Linked DNA regions of Homo sapiens: regions 1, 2, 3 and 5 are each linked to region 4. Evidence: promoter capture Hi-C in human tissues and cell types (Jung and others, 2019). All regions are on one chromosome and are shown on one strand. The core of a region is centred on a gene start or on the middle of the fragment in contact, and the rest is flanking DNA. Distances in the headings are between cores, read along the strand shown.

Evidence for each region. The method cuts DNA at HindIII sites, captures the fragments that hold promoters and counts their contacts. A contact is called where the count stands out against the background at its distance.
Region 1: a fragment that was not itself captured here is called in contact with the fragment with the promoter of CADM1 in region 4 in 1 of the 25 tissues and cell types used here (heart right ventricle).
Region 2: a fragment that was not itself captured here is called in contact with the fragment with the promoter of CADM1 in region 4 in 1 of the 25 tissues and cell types used here (H1 embryonic stem cells).
Region 3: a contact is called between a fragment that was not itself captured here and the fragment with the promoter of CADM1 in region 4, in 1 of the 25 tissues and cell types used here (heart left ventricle).
Region 5: a contact is called between a fragment that was not itself captured here and the fragment with the promoter of CADM1 in region 4, in 4 of the 25 tissues and cell types used here (IMR-90 fibroblasts, bladder, dorsolateral prefrontal cortex and 1 more).

Annotation. Positions count from the first base shown.
Region 1 is chr11:115,698,827-115,701,526 of GRCh38, reverse strand. The region is part of intron 2 of LINC02698 (long intergenic non-protein coding RNA 2698); the gene reads right to left. Among named protein-coding and RNA genes, the nearest start is that of LINC02698, 41 kb to the right of the region's middle. The HindIII fragment of the contact is 4,913 bases long and covers 1-2,700 here.
Region 2 is chr11:115,372,654-115,375,353 of GRCh38, reverse strand. All of the region lies in intron 1 of CADM1 (cell adhesion molecule 1), which reads left to right. Among named protein-coding and RNA genes, the nearest start is that of CADM1-AS1, 23 kb to the left of the region's middle. The HindIII fragment of the contact is 3,741 bases long and covers 1-2,700 here.
Region 3 is chr11:115,281,918-115,284,617 of GRCh38, reverse strand. The region is part of intron 1 of CADM1 (cell adhesion molecule 1); the gene reads left to right. Among named protein-coding and RNA genes, the nearest start is that of CADM1-AS1, 110 kb to the left of the region's middle. The HindIII fragment of the contact is 6,448 bases long and covers 1-2,700 here.
Region 4 is chr11:115,503,023-115,505,722 of GRCh38, reverse strand. It overlaps CADM1 (cell adhesion molecule 1), which reads left to right and starts at 1,308. Exons shown (of 12, transcript NM_001301043.2): 1 at 1,308-1,452. The coding sequence starts at 1,329. RefSeq lists a silencer at 1,123-1,282. The HindIII fragment of the contact is 7,329 bases long and covers 1-2,700 here.
Region 5 is chr11:115,350,437-115,353,136 of GRCh38, reverse strand. All of the region lies in intron 1 of CADM1 (cell adhesion molecule 1), which reads left to right. Among named protein-coding and RNA genes, the nearest start is that of CADM1-AS1, 45 kb to the left of the region's middle. The HindIII fragment of the contact is 3,162 bases long and covers 1-2,700 here.

The sequences.
Region 1 (2,700 bases), core at 174-2,673, 200 kb before region 4:
TGCCAACCCTGGAGAAACCTGCACCTCTACAACCCCAGGCCAGGATGGAAACACCCAGGGTCGACCACAGCCTGACCCCGGGGATCTGCCCACATAAGGTCTCCAGCTAGTGTTGCAGCCCGAGGTCTACCCTCCCATCCAACGCATCACTGCCACCACATTACCACCGAGGCACTTGCTGGTACAGCTGGTGGGTGAACTCTTTATCACTGCATGTGGTGGGCTCACCCATAGCTGCCTCTTGGTAAACTTGGTGTGGCTGAGGCACAGCCCTTAGTCACTGAGGACTTACTTCTGCCCAAAGTCTCCTTCGACCACCCCAGTCCTCCCCACCCACTGGAGCCAGGAATTCCCTCTCTGAAGGGCCAAGTGAGACTCAAAGGAGAAGTCAGTTCCCAAGCCACCTAGCCAATAGCAGGGTTGGAACTTGCCATCAGAGCCTCAGCCACAGAGAAAGGAAGCTGCCAAGAAGCTGGACCCCAGTGGGCAACGGAGCCTCGTAGCTGCCCCCAGCTGTGCGGCACCCCAAACCCCCATGCAGCCCTGCAACAATGCCTGAACTAATTCTATCCCATTCTCCTTTAAAAAAGAAAACCCTGGAAATAATTACTTCAGTCAGACATTATTTACTTAAGTAATTCTTTACTCAAACGTCTTTAGGCTTTATTTTACTAATACTACATAATTACGTAATTGTGTAATTAGGAAGAAATTAAATGACAAATGTTTGCTGAGAACAAATTGAAAAAAATAGATCCTTTATTTCCCTGAGTGTTCTCAGTTCAGTACATGACATCTTCTTCCCCCTCCTCCCGTTCTTCCCTCTGGTCTCCCCACCCTCTGAGGTCTCCCCACAGGGGGCATCTCGAGGGCTGACTCCCTGGACAAGTAACAGCAGGTGTGGCATCTTGAGCCTGAGGTAGATCTGAAATGTCTGTCAGCTAACCTGTGTGTCTCTCTATACTGCCTGACCTCCTCCTAGGTTGGGCACTGGAGTCAAGCTTTCTCTGGTTTGCTCTTTCTGTCTCTAAGAAGCCTGGGAGACCCATGAACTCCAACCCACAGCCATCCTAGGAAAGTGAGTACAGCAGCTAGCTAGCCCTAAGGACTATCTTCCCGTGGGCACTGGCCTATTCAGCATGTTCTGCAGACGTGCTTTCAGAGGCTGCCAGGTCCTCAGGCTGAAAGAAAAGAATGAGGGGTCCACCAGGTTGAAAGGGAGTTCAGTGTGGATCTGCTTCACCAACTTCACAGGAATCCATAGCGTCTGCCCCAAAAATCTACCCAAGAAGGAGGCACAGCATGCACCCCAGGACTAAGCTGCCGATGGAGAGGAACCTGTTCACATAGACCACCACGCCTCCCTCCCTCCTTCCTTTCTCCAACCTCAGAAGCTGTGGAAGCCAGTGGAGCTTCCTGTGGGTAAAAAATTCAATCAATCAACCACCCACCCAACACCCATGGAGCATGTCTTTTGTTCAAGTTCTGAGGGGGACACAAAAGAGCAGGCAGGCCACAGCTATGCTCATTAATACGTCAGCTGCTTGGAACTTGGCATGTAGAGCTGTGTTATTCACAGCAGAAAGTTTCCTAGGCCAGCCTGCCAAAAAAAAAAAAAAAAAAAAAAAATCACTACTAAATGTCCCCGGCATTCAGTACCAGAAAGGAAGAGTACTCTTGGGCACTCAAGACTGCTGAAGCTCACATCCTGTCTCCAACACTTGCAGGCTGTGGGCCTGGATGAGTGACTCCATCTTGCTATGCCTCCATTTTCTTGTCAGTAAAATGCGAACCATGAACATGCTACCAGATTCTTGTGAGGATTAAATGAATCTGTGCAGTGAGACACTCAGAAGAGCACCAAGTGTTCAATAAACAGCAATGATGGTCTTCAACGTGTCACTGCAAAAGCCAAGCCATACAGAATAGAAGGGTGCTGTGGGAAAGCGCCCCTGCCAGGAGGATGGCCAGTGCTGGAGGCTCCTCCCCACCTTCACCAGCCCCAACTGACTGTGACTTCGGAGCTCAGGGTAGGGCTGGCAGACGAAGAGTCTGGGAAAGACAAGAAAAGCAAAGGGACACCATGCCCAGGGGAAGGGGCATGGAGCCATGGGAGAGGGACTTCCTGAGACTGAACTGCCCAGAGAAACTTCTACTAGGGGCTTTTCACTTCGGGGGCCAATTGTAGAAAAGAACACAGTGTCCCCAGTCTGACAAACTTGAAAATACTTTCTGAAAAGGGAACGAGTATACACTGTTGGTGGGGATGCAAATTAGCTCAGCCCCTGTGGAAAGCAGTTTGGAGATCTCTCAAAGAACTAAAAATAGAATTACCATTTCACCTAGCAAGCGAACTGGGTCTATAACCAAAGGAATAGAAATTACTGGGTATATACCCAAATAAATAGGAATCGTTCTGCCAAAAAGACACCTGCGCTTGTATATTCATGGCAGCACATTCACAATAGGAAAGATGTGGAATCAACCCAGTTGCCCGTTAACAATGGATTGGATAAAGAAAATGTGGTACATCTACACCATGGAATACTACACAGCTATTAAAAAGAAGGAAATTAGATCCTTTGCAGCAACATGGATGCAGCTGGAGGTCACTCTCCGAAGTGAATTAACATAGAAACAGAAAACCAGATACCACATGTTCTCTCTTGTAACTGGGAGCTAAACATTGTGTACACATGA
Region 2 (2,700 bases), core at 191-2,690, 130 kb after region 4:
GCTTCCTTCCTCCCCAGTGATAACCAGGATTTGAACTATAATGCCATAGTTCTACATTTTTTTGTTTGCTTTTGCTTTTGACATTTTAAAAACTTCTTATTGTTGAAAATGTCAAACACACAAAAGCAGAGGGCATAGTGTATTGAATATCATGTTCTTATCACTCAACTTCAACAGTTATTAACTCATGACCAATATTATTTCACCTGTAATCTCACCCACTCCCCCAACCATGGATCATTTTAAAGAAAATTATAGACATTGTACTATCTTTCCATCAAGATTTCAGTATGTATCTCTAAAAGACAGGGATTCTTTTTTAAAAAGATAACCACAATAATATTTTCTTACCTAAATACTTTTGTACCAACAATATCCAGGCAGTATTAAAATTCTGTAATTGCCTTATATTATTATTACTTTGAAAAAAACCTTTTTATTTGTTGAGTCAAGAGTCAAATGAAGTCCGTGAGTATAACTACTTGATTAGCACGCCAAGTTTTTCTTAGCCTATAGCTTCTTCATCCCTTTTTTCTCCCTCGAAGTTTAAGAAACTGGACTGCTTGTCCCATAATTGCCCACAGTCTGATTTTGCTTATTATGTCTTCCTGATGTTGTTTAACATGTTTTTTAAAAATTTTTTTATTTCTTATTAGTCAAATAAGTCTATGAGATTCAGGCTTACTTTTCTTTTTTGGGGTATGGGAGGGTATAAAGGGTAAGAATACTTCATAGGTAGGTATATAATGTCTGTACCTTTTTGTATGCATGTGATGTCAGTAACCATTTGAAGATCACTGCGTAGATTTATTCTTTCAGTGAGGGCTGCAAAATGGTGAGGATCTTATTCTGCCATTCCTTCATAAAGAGAAACTTCCCCTTATCATTTAACTTAAGTGCAATATACATAGAATGGCCAGACAAATGACTGATTCTTTACCTTTATTTACTGATTTTCAAAATAATTAGTTGGTTCTCAGCACCCTTCAAAGGTATTTATGAAAGTTTTGTTTTGCTTTAGTATTATTTTGAATTTATAGGGTTAAACATGCTTCAATCCATTCAATTATTATTCTTACTGATGCTCAAATTATCCTGCTTTTGGCTAGTGGAAGACTCTTTTATTATGACCCCAGAATCTTTGCTAATATCCTTTTCTGGTTGCGATAAGATATTCCAGGCTCATCTTAGAAGGTTTTTTGTTTTGTTTTGTTCTTGCCTCAAACCTGGAATCAGCTATTTCTCCTAGAAGCTCATTTCTTTTAGTGGAAAATTAGAAACTATACTCTGGTCCCTGGGATGTGCTTATTCCTACTGGATAGGTCACTGTTTTTAGATCTTTTTAGTGTACAGAACTAGGCAATGTATTGTTGTTGTCTTAAAGATAAAATGTATAAGGACTCCATTTTGACTCTTCCAATTCAAATTCAAGACTACGTAGCTTTCACTTAAAATCATGTATTTGTGTTTTCATTCATGCATGTGAAAAATCCTGACACCAGCATTGGAGATTCTTAAACTGGGATACATCATACGCACAGTAGTTTCTGGGAGGTAAAGCTTGGCATCTGCATTTTTAACAATTTCCACAGGTGATTCTGATACTCACCCAAGGATGAGAACCACTGATCTATTTTTTACGAACTATTTTATGTTATAGATACTTAAATGGAACCTCCCATTTTCTTCTTAGAATCCCCCTTTTCTTTGTTGATTGTCCACATTCTTTCTTCTTCTTCTTCTTCTTTTTTTTTTTTTTTTTTTTTTTTTGAGACAGAGTCTTGCTCTGTCACCCAGGCTGGACTGCAGTGGCATGATCTGGGTCACTGCAACCTCCACCTCCCAGGTTCATGCAATTCTCACGCCTCAGCCACCGGAGCAGCTGAGACTACAGGCGTGCACCACCACACCCTGCTACTTTTTTTATTTTTGGAAGAGATGGTGTTTTGCCATGTTGGCCAGGCTGGTCTAGAGCTCCTGACCTCAAGTAATTCACCTGCCTCAGCCTCCCAAAGTGCTGGGATTACAGGCATGAGCCAGTGCGCCTGGCCAAGGTTGACCATATTCTTGATGAGCCACCTGTGTACAATCTGAATTCTTTTCTTGTTTAACTCATTGGTCTGTGCATCTGACAGTAAAGTTGAGTTATTTCACTTCTGTGAAAGCCAGGCTGCAGTTATCTTTGACCGCTTGAAATGCTAAAATACAGGTGAACCTCACAACTAAGGCTCTGCCCAAGGCCAGAGAGAGAATCCTCCCTCATTGCTTTGAGCAGAATGCCTGGTACTGGAGTAGATTTGCTTAAAGGCAACTCTGCATTTGATAAAATATCAGAGCAATTTATGTCCTTGTACCCTTGTTCCTTTTCTTTCCTCTTAGGCAGAAATGTTAATTGACAATCAAAGGAGTAACAGGTGCATACCTGAATTCACAAGCCTTTGGGGCCCATCTTGAATACTTCTGCAGATCCAGGCCTGGTTTAGGTTATGCCTTCTTTCATCCATGCTCACCTGAGAGTTCCAGTGTTTTCCTTGTTCTTGTTTCTGCATTCAGAGTTCTAAAATTTGACTCTGGCTGGTCATTTTATCACTTCTCTCTCTTAGAGTAGACTATAGATCTATATCTGAACATTTAGCTTCTAATTGATTTGTATTGATAATAGGTGAAAAAGAAGTTAATTAGCCTGGAAATGACTACACC
Region 3 (2,700 bases), core at 85-2,584, 220 kb after region 4:
ATTTGGAATTGTGCTTGGTTACAGTATGTAAACTTTCATGAATGTGCTTTATTCCTTTTTGAAAACTATCTTCCTCTTACGTTTTTCCTTTCTGTTTTTTTTTTTTAGACAAACCTTGTCTGACTGACTATAACCTTTAAATAATTGGTAAAGTAGAGCAGTGAAACTGACATGAAAATCTATTGAAAAGAAATGGAAGCCGGGAGCATTATTCTAGTAAAGGACTGGCTAGCCTATTGTTCCCTTCTCTTGTGCTGTGTGTGGGAATTATTTCTGCTGGCAACAGACAACATCGACAGTAGTAGTATTAAAATAATTCACATCTATTTTTGTTAGTAATAATGTAATACTGGATCATCTCTAGGCCACAAAATAATTGACCCATTTCTAGGAGCAGAAAGTCTTCAAACTACAAGTGCTTCTCTTGTCTGCCCACGTCTGCTTTCTCTGCCTCCTCACCATACACACACACACACACACACACACACACACACACACACACAGAGAGAGAGAGAGAGAGAGAGAGAGAGTGTCTGGGCTTGTAGATCTTCACCCTGGTTCTCACAGGCCCCCCTGCCTGGAACGCCACTTTCAGCCTCAATAATTTTACCATTTTTCAGGAGCAAGTCTAGGACCCGATCCCTTAAAGCTTTTCTTCACTTGTCCATTGCATTCAGTCCTATTCAAGAGACATTTGAGCACTGGAGATACCACGCTGAACAAGGTGGGCAAGCCTCTGTACTGAGACCTCACAGTGTAGTGGGGACTTGTAAGCAAGGCCAGGCCTTTACAGCAGCATGGTAGACACTACGACAGGTGGCACAGGGCCCTGTGGGAGCCTTGCCCAGACCTTGCCTAGTCTTCTGCACCGATCCCACTTTGCCCTGAATGTCTGGCGTGGCTTTAGTAGCTTCCAGGGAAGTTGGCATTTAATTTTTTGCTGCCTTGCATTGTTTTCTTTCTGTCTGTTATCTCCCTGGCTGGATGGTAACTACTTTGAGGATAATGGACTTCATTTTATTTTTATGCTGCCTTTTTAAACCCTATAGGGTCTTAAACAGCACTCAGTGGATGGTAAATACTCAGTAAACACTCACTGATTTGCTTAGACCCTCTTCCCTTCCCTCCACCTCTGTGGCTTTACACAGGGATGACTTCCCCTCACTGCGTTCCTTCCAATACCTTCTATAATTTGAAAATGGCTGGCCTCTGAACCTTGTTTGCTTAGGGGCAGTGAACTCCAGCTGATTATAGTCATTGTCTTCTGGCCCTGGGTTCTTGGGCAGCAACATGACTTCCTTCTACCAACCTATCCTTTCTTCCTCAGCTCCCATCGATTTAATTATACTTCAGGCTCTCCAGGCACAGATCTACCATCACCTCTTTTTGCGTAGCCTCTAAAATGCTTTCCTCTTTCAGGGACTGTTTTCCTAATGAGGGCAGAATATAATTTAGAGGCTTAATTTTAGAAAACTATATGAAGCAGCAGACCCATAAAATGTTATGATTCACAACCACTTGTTTTGTTCTCATAATGCAACCTAAACTAAAAAGCCATTCATCAAAGCTATAAAAGCTGTTCATGGCTGTCTTTAGTATATCGTGTGGAGCATAATTCAGCCCACAGAGAGGCTAAAGATGGATTCATGGGGCCATTTGCCTTGGTGTACGTTAAAGGCCAGTAATTTCTATGCTCTGTAGAATACTGTATTTTACTATAAACCCTGGATTTTTTCTTAACCCCACTTAGCTTTCGTTTCCATTTTAATATAAGCATGTCCCCATTTATAACCTCTTCCATCCCCTGTAAATAATTGCCAAGATCCTGACTGTTCCCTAATTCATAGTCCTTCTTGTCTCAGCTACTTTGACCATTTAAGGCGATTGGTGTATGAAGATGTGTTGACCAGAAACCCAAAATGCAGCCTCCATGGAGAGCTGCCTTGGTCATCTGTCTCCTCTAACAACACCCTAGGAGAACCATTGGTCCTCCCATCACAGCTCCCCAGAGAGCAAATTGCCAACACTTTCCTAGAAATGAATGAGGGAACAAAGCTGTGGGCATTCTGGGCTATGTTTTTATAGTGTTGTGATAAGAATGCACTGGTGATTGTGAACCCAAGTTGCTAACTATAGTGTCGTCAGAACTTAAGATGCCTCTTATATTGTGTTCATATTTAAATAATGAGGTCTGACCTTTACATTTACTCATAATCATGTATCTAGGTCATCACGTCACATTTTCAAAAGTACAAGATAATATCCTGGAAGCTAAAGGTTCCAGCCATAGGGTAGATGCAGCTGGGTTTGAATCCTGGCTTGGGTACCAGTTTGGCTGTGCTTCCTTAAGCATGTTACATAACCACTCATTTTCTTCATCTGCAAAATAAGATTACTCACTGAACCTATCCCATAGGATTACTGTGACGATAGCAAAAAGATAATCCATATAAGACATCACCATAGTACTTGGTTCATGGTAATCAGCATTACTTATTCAGTAATTCTTCTTTTTATTAAGAGTCTACCAAAAAAAATAATAAAGCAAGGAACTGGAAGGATCTTATTAAATCTAGACAAACATTTTCAATAAAACTCTAAGATGGATGGCTTGTGTGTCTTTGATACATGTTTTACTTTGTAGAGCTAGTTTAAATTGTGTTGTAAACAGAAGGACACCTAACAAAAAATGAACCAGTT
Region 4 (2,700 bases), core at 59-2,558:
ATTTATTATGCAAATTGTATTTCCTACATCTTATTGTTCTGCATTCTATGAATACTTAAATTATTATAAACCTTTACACTTAATATGGCTCGTCCTTCAATTTGATGCTTGAGCAACAGAGGGTCAGAGCGCACACGATCTTCTAGAGGGGAAGAAAATAAGTAATTAAAAAGCAGACAAACAAGAGAGCCGGCTGCCTGGCTGAAAAGAAAGCAAAGAGAATTTCGGGGAGGGAGAGTGAGTCCGGAGATGCAAGTCGCTTTAGCAGGAGAGGCTCTCCCAGAGACAGGGGAAGCTCGGAGCACCTGTTGGTCCCCAGCTTCCTTAGGAAGGGCTGGGGGCGCAGAGGAGGAGTGAGAGGGTTTGAGCCCCGAAGGAGGAACACGGCAGACCCTGCCTTCACCACACTCCCTCTCCCCAACTCCCACCACCCCCGCTCTTCACCTGAAGCCTTGACTAATTTTTTCCGTTGTTGTGTAATCTTAAATATCTAATATTACAAATATTTCACACATATATTCAACACACACCTATATATTAAAACCAGGGAGGAGACCCTCGACAAGCGGAGGAGCCTGAGCATACCCTCCTCGATCTACCTTTCCCGAGATTCTGCCGCAAAAAGACCGACTGGAAAATCTCAGAACCCGACTCTACGGCTGCCTTCTCCAACTATCCCCGAGTCTACCGCTAGGCTGTTGAGCGGGCTCTCCCGCTCCGCCGGACGTGCAAAGCACGCATGCACTTCTCCCAGATTGTTTTGTCAATCCGGGGACCTGCCTTCTTACTCTCCACTCCCGCACAGCCCCCGTTCCCAAAGATCTATTCCTTCGGTGCAAGGTGAGTGACGGAAATTTGCAACGTCTGGTTCGCTAGGCCAGATGCACTCGGTGTGCGGGACAGAGGACCCTCTTAAGGGAGATTCTCCAGTCGTCGGTCTGATACAGCGATTGCTATAAACATTCCTAATAAAGGTGTACAAGAAGCTAGACCCGCCCCCTGGAGCCCGAGTCCTTGCACGCCAGGCGCCCGGGAGAACACTTTTTCCTTGATCCGGGGAAAGCAAAACCCGAATTTTAACATAAACATATTTGCATACGCCCCTCCCCTTGGCCCCGCCCCTAGGTGGCGCGGGCGCGCCGCCGAACGCCAGCGCCAGGGGGCGGGGTGGGGGAGGGAGCGAGGCCCTCCGAGAGCCGGGTTGGGCTCGCGGCGCTGTGATTGGTCTGCCCGGACTCCGCCTCCAGCGCATGTCATTAGCATCTCATTAGCTGTCCGCTCGGGCTCCGGAGGCAGCCAACGCCGCCAGTCTGAGGCAGGTGCCCGACATGGCGAGTGTAGTGCTGCCGAGCGGATCCCAGTGTGCGGCGGCAGCGGCGGCGGCGGCGCCTCCCGGGCTCCGGCTCCGGCTTCTGCTGTTGCTCTTCTCCGCCGCGGCACTGATCCCCACAGGTAGGTGTGGGCACCGACCGGTTGGCCCCTAAATCTCCGAAGGCACCCCAGTAGCCTTGGCCACAGAGGGGGGAAACGTTTCCATGACAACCTCCCCCCACTTCCTACATCCGAAGCGGAGGGAGTGTGGAGAGGAAACTCAGGGCTGAGAGGGAAGGGGCTGAGGGCATCTGTGAGCCCCTTCTCCCCTGCCCGGCTAAGTGTGAATGAGAGTCCCCAGGGATGGCTGCACCCACACCTTCTCTCCCCGGCTTGGCGCGGGGTGCAGAGTGGAGTGAGAATGGGGGGCCCGGGGGCTGTAAAGCATGGGGGAAGGGGATGGTTCAAAGACAACCTCAACCCTTCCGGACCCTTCTAAACTCGCCGTTCTCCCCGTAACTTGCAGGTCCTCCCACCTCCCAGGGCTGTCCATTCGCCCCCACCTCTCCAGAGGGCCCCCCCAGTTCTCCATCCCCGAAGCCTCCTGGTGGCTGACTCCCAGCCGCCCGCGGCGTGATTTCTCCCCGGTCCCCAGGACATCCCCAGACTTGTCTGATCTCCCCTGCCCCTTCCCCCAACGCGCTCTGCCTTTCTCCCCTGTCCCCAAACTGCACGCCTCTCGTGTTTCCCTCCGGCCGTTCGCAGCCCTCCGCCCCCTCGGCTCTGCTGCGGGTCTTTTTGGCCCGGCTCCAGGCGGGGAAAGTTCCCCGGCCCGGCCCCGCGGGGGGGGCGGCCGCTGTCGCCGCCTCTGCGGGAAGGCGCCGGGAGCCCGCAGCCCGCCCGCCCCACAGCGTCCTCTGCCACGAGTGGGGACACGGGATTTCCCGGCTGCCCGTTCTTTCGGCGGCCCGAGGGTGGCGGAGGGGGCGTCGCGGCCTCTGCGGCCAGGCGGGCACCCTGCGGGCCTCCGCGCGCTCCCTGCGTGAAGAGCAGTCTTGGGAATTTGCCCAGGGGCGGCTCTGCACGCCCGGTGCCTTCCCTGAAGACACCGAGCACTCGGCTGGAGCCCGATGTGTGGCTGCCCGTGTGCCGGGCGCGTTGGCGCGGTCGGGAAAGAAGAGGGCAGTGTTTGCTTTTGCTAACAAAAGGGAGCCGGAGCTCTTCCTCAGCGGAGAGGCCGGCTGTGCTGCACCCAGCCTCCCTTCCCGCCACCTCGCCGCGCTTGGCAGCCGCGCGGCGTCCTCTGGCCCCTGCTGCAGGCTCCAGGCGGGCGCCGGGACCGAGTGGCACGGGGCCGCGGGGTGCGAGCGGCGATGCAGGAGGGGATGC
Region 5 (2,700 bases), core at 165-2,664, 150 kb after region 4:
CTCTACATCTTGTAGAAGCTTAATTTGCTAGAATTACATAAATAGAAATTATCAAACTCAAAAAGCCTTTAGCATTTTCAGTCCAGAACACAAAGATAAGGAAATAATTCAAAAGTTATCTCAAGAGAAATCAAGTTCGCATGCACGCATATGTTCACTGCAGCACTATTCACAATAGCAAAGACATGGAATCAGCCTAAATGCCCATCAGTGGCAGATTGGATGAAGAAAATGTGGTACATATACACCGTGGAATACTATGGAGCTGTACTGCCTGGCCTGGAAATCTGGCTGTGACAGGCACTAGCTGAGTGAAACTTACCTCTGTCTTACCTCGACTGCAAGATGGGGATAATAATAATAATATCTATTTCATATGGCAGTGGTGAGGATTAAGCCAATTAGTGTAAAATACACAAAAATACTAAAAACAGTGCCCATCACTGTACAATGCTGTGTTTTTTCTACCTTCTCCTGCTCCTCCTCTTCTTCTTCCTAAGTCTTCTCTGTTGTTTTACTAAGAAACACATATTCTTTGAATATGGAAGAGAAAGGAATTTACTTTGCTCATCCTGTAATATTTTTCCTGGAGATGAGCTCTTAGCTGGCTTCTGGGAAAAGAAAATATTTCCTCTATTTTATCCAGCACTCTGCATAGCCTGTGACAGTTATATAAAAATATCAGTTTAGATGTGTTAGAGATTGTTTTAGAAGACTATTCCATGTAAGCCATGCATTGGTTCATTCATTCATTCTTGCACAAGTGCGTGAGGATTGCTTCTTAAATGCAGGGCACTATATCTGCATCAGATGGGGACTTAGAATCATCATTCCGTGCTGACAAGCCCTCTGCCAAAGGGATCAGTACTCCACTTTTGTATAGAACTGGGACAGACTTTCCGTCACAATTTTGTTATGAAACTGTCAGGTGAGATGTTGCACTGAATTCCCTTTAGTAGATTTATACAGTTTCAGAGATTTTGTTATGGTAACTTGGGGGCTTTTAATTTGATTTTATTGGATTCTTTTTTTAGACTCTTAAGGCAGTGGTGTTTTCATCACTACATCTGCACAATTTGTTATTGGCATTATTGGGAATTGCGGATGTAAAGCAGTCTATGACTTTTGGGAATATTAATAAACTCCTAAAGTACTTGTTCAATTAGCTTCTCTGACCTGCTGTCCAGAGGTTGAGCTGTCATTAACTGAGGAAGCTTCCTATGGTTTAAGTGGTGGTGAGGAAAACCATTGTCTTTCTTCCTCCTCATCTTTGTCTTGCCTACTTCATTCACTACTTTCTTGGGAGCAGTGCAGGAAGAGGCCGTCCAATTCCAGAGCTGCAGAGGGGCTCCTATGCCCTAGAGAATGAGAAAGAGCATGCTGGTTAGGTTTTATATTACTACTGTGCCTATTTTTGATTAAGAGAATGTTTTCTGTGTGTCCAGAGGTTTAAAAGATTAATAATTTATTTTACATATCTGGAGAATTGCTTCTCTCTGCCTCAAGCATTAGGGCCAGAGTTCTGTATTTTGTTTGCATACAATTTGAAGTGTTTTCTCTAGGTCTTATAGGGGAGAATCTGAAGACTTCATTGCTCGCTGATTTCAGTCTTACTGATGTTGGGCTCTTAGATCAGCTTGCTAGAATACAAAAATTATTCTTTTATCGTGACACCAAATTCTGTACCCTGGGACTCCAAGTGGCCATTGAAAGACTTGGGTTTAATGTTAGTGCCTCATGCTATCAACTGCCTATCTGTTGTGAAATTCTTTTGTTGTCAGATTTGTCGTTTCCTTTTCAGATAGTAGATCATCTGATTTAGAGCATGAAGGTACGTCTTCCTAAGTTTCTATGACAGAAAGATATTGAAGAAGAAGGAGAAAAGCCAAATACCAGAGACCAGACAAGGTGGCAGGAAATTGCAAACATGGTGGAATTTCCAGTCTTTTTCATTTTTTGAAGTCACAGATAATTTAAAAACTACTCGCTTTTACTTTTTTTTGTTTGTTTCCTTGCTTTTGCAACCATGTCTATCTGCCAACCTTTCTAAAATGTCATGATGTAATTATTTTAACAGGCACTGTATGCTCCTTTATTTGGGGGATATTAACCTTTCTAAACAAAAGGAATGTTAATATACACTGGAAACACAACTAATGGGATTTCATTTTTCTTGTTAGGCAAGAAGCTTGACTTTTTTTTTTTTTTTTTAACTTCTCGTAAAAGAATGCGGCAAGTGAAATAATTGCCTTAAGCTAATCCATGATAGCGATTTTAAACGTGACTTTCCAGATCACTTTTATATGGCTTAGAAAGAATAATGTGATTTTCTTGTTTTTGTTTGCTTTAGCTAAACAGTGTTGAAGGATGATATAAATTCAATGAATTCAAAACAAAGAAAATGCTAATTGCTAATGCGCTAAGTTCTTTTAAGGCATGAAATACAGTGTTTAATTCATAAGCATTGTTTCGTTTTATATAGATTTAATTTTTTTTTTTAGTTAGTATGGGACAAACTCAGAATAAATTAGCCAGCTAGCCATTTTCTTAATTATTGTGTATTCCTATTTGATGTTTAAATATATATGACCTAAATATGTTGTGGTTTTTATTAAAAAAAAAAAAAAGAAAAAAAGAATGGTCATAGGCTCTCAGATAGTGAGGCAAAGCACTTTTAGGATTTCTACAGGGCACCTCCTC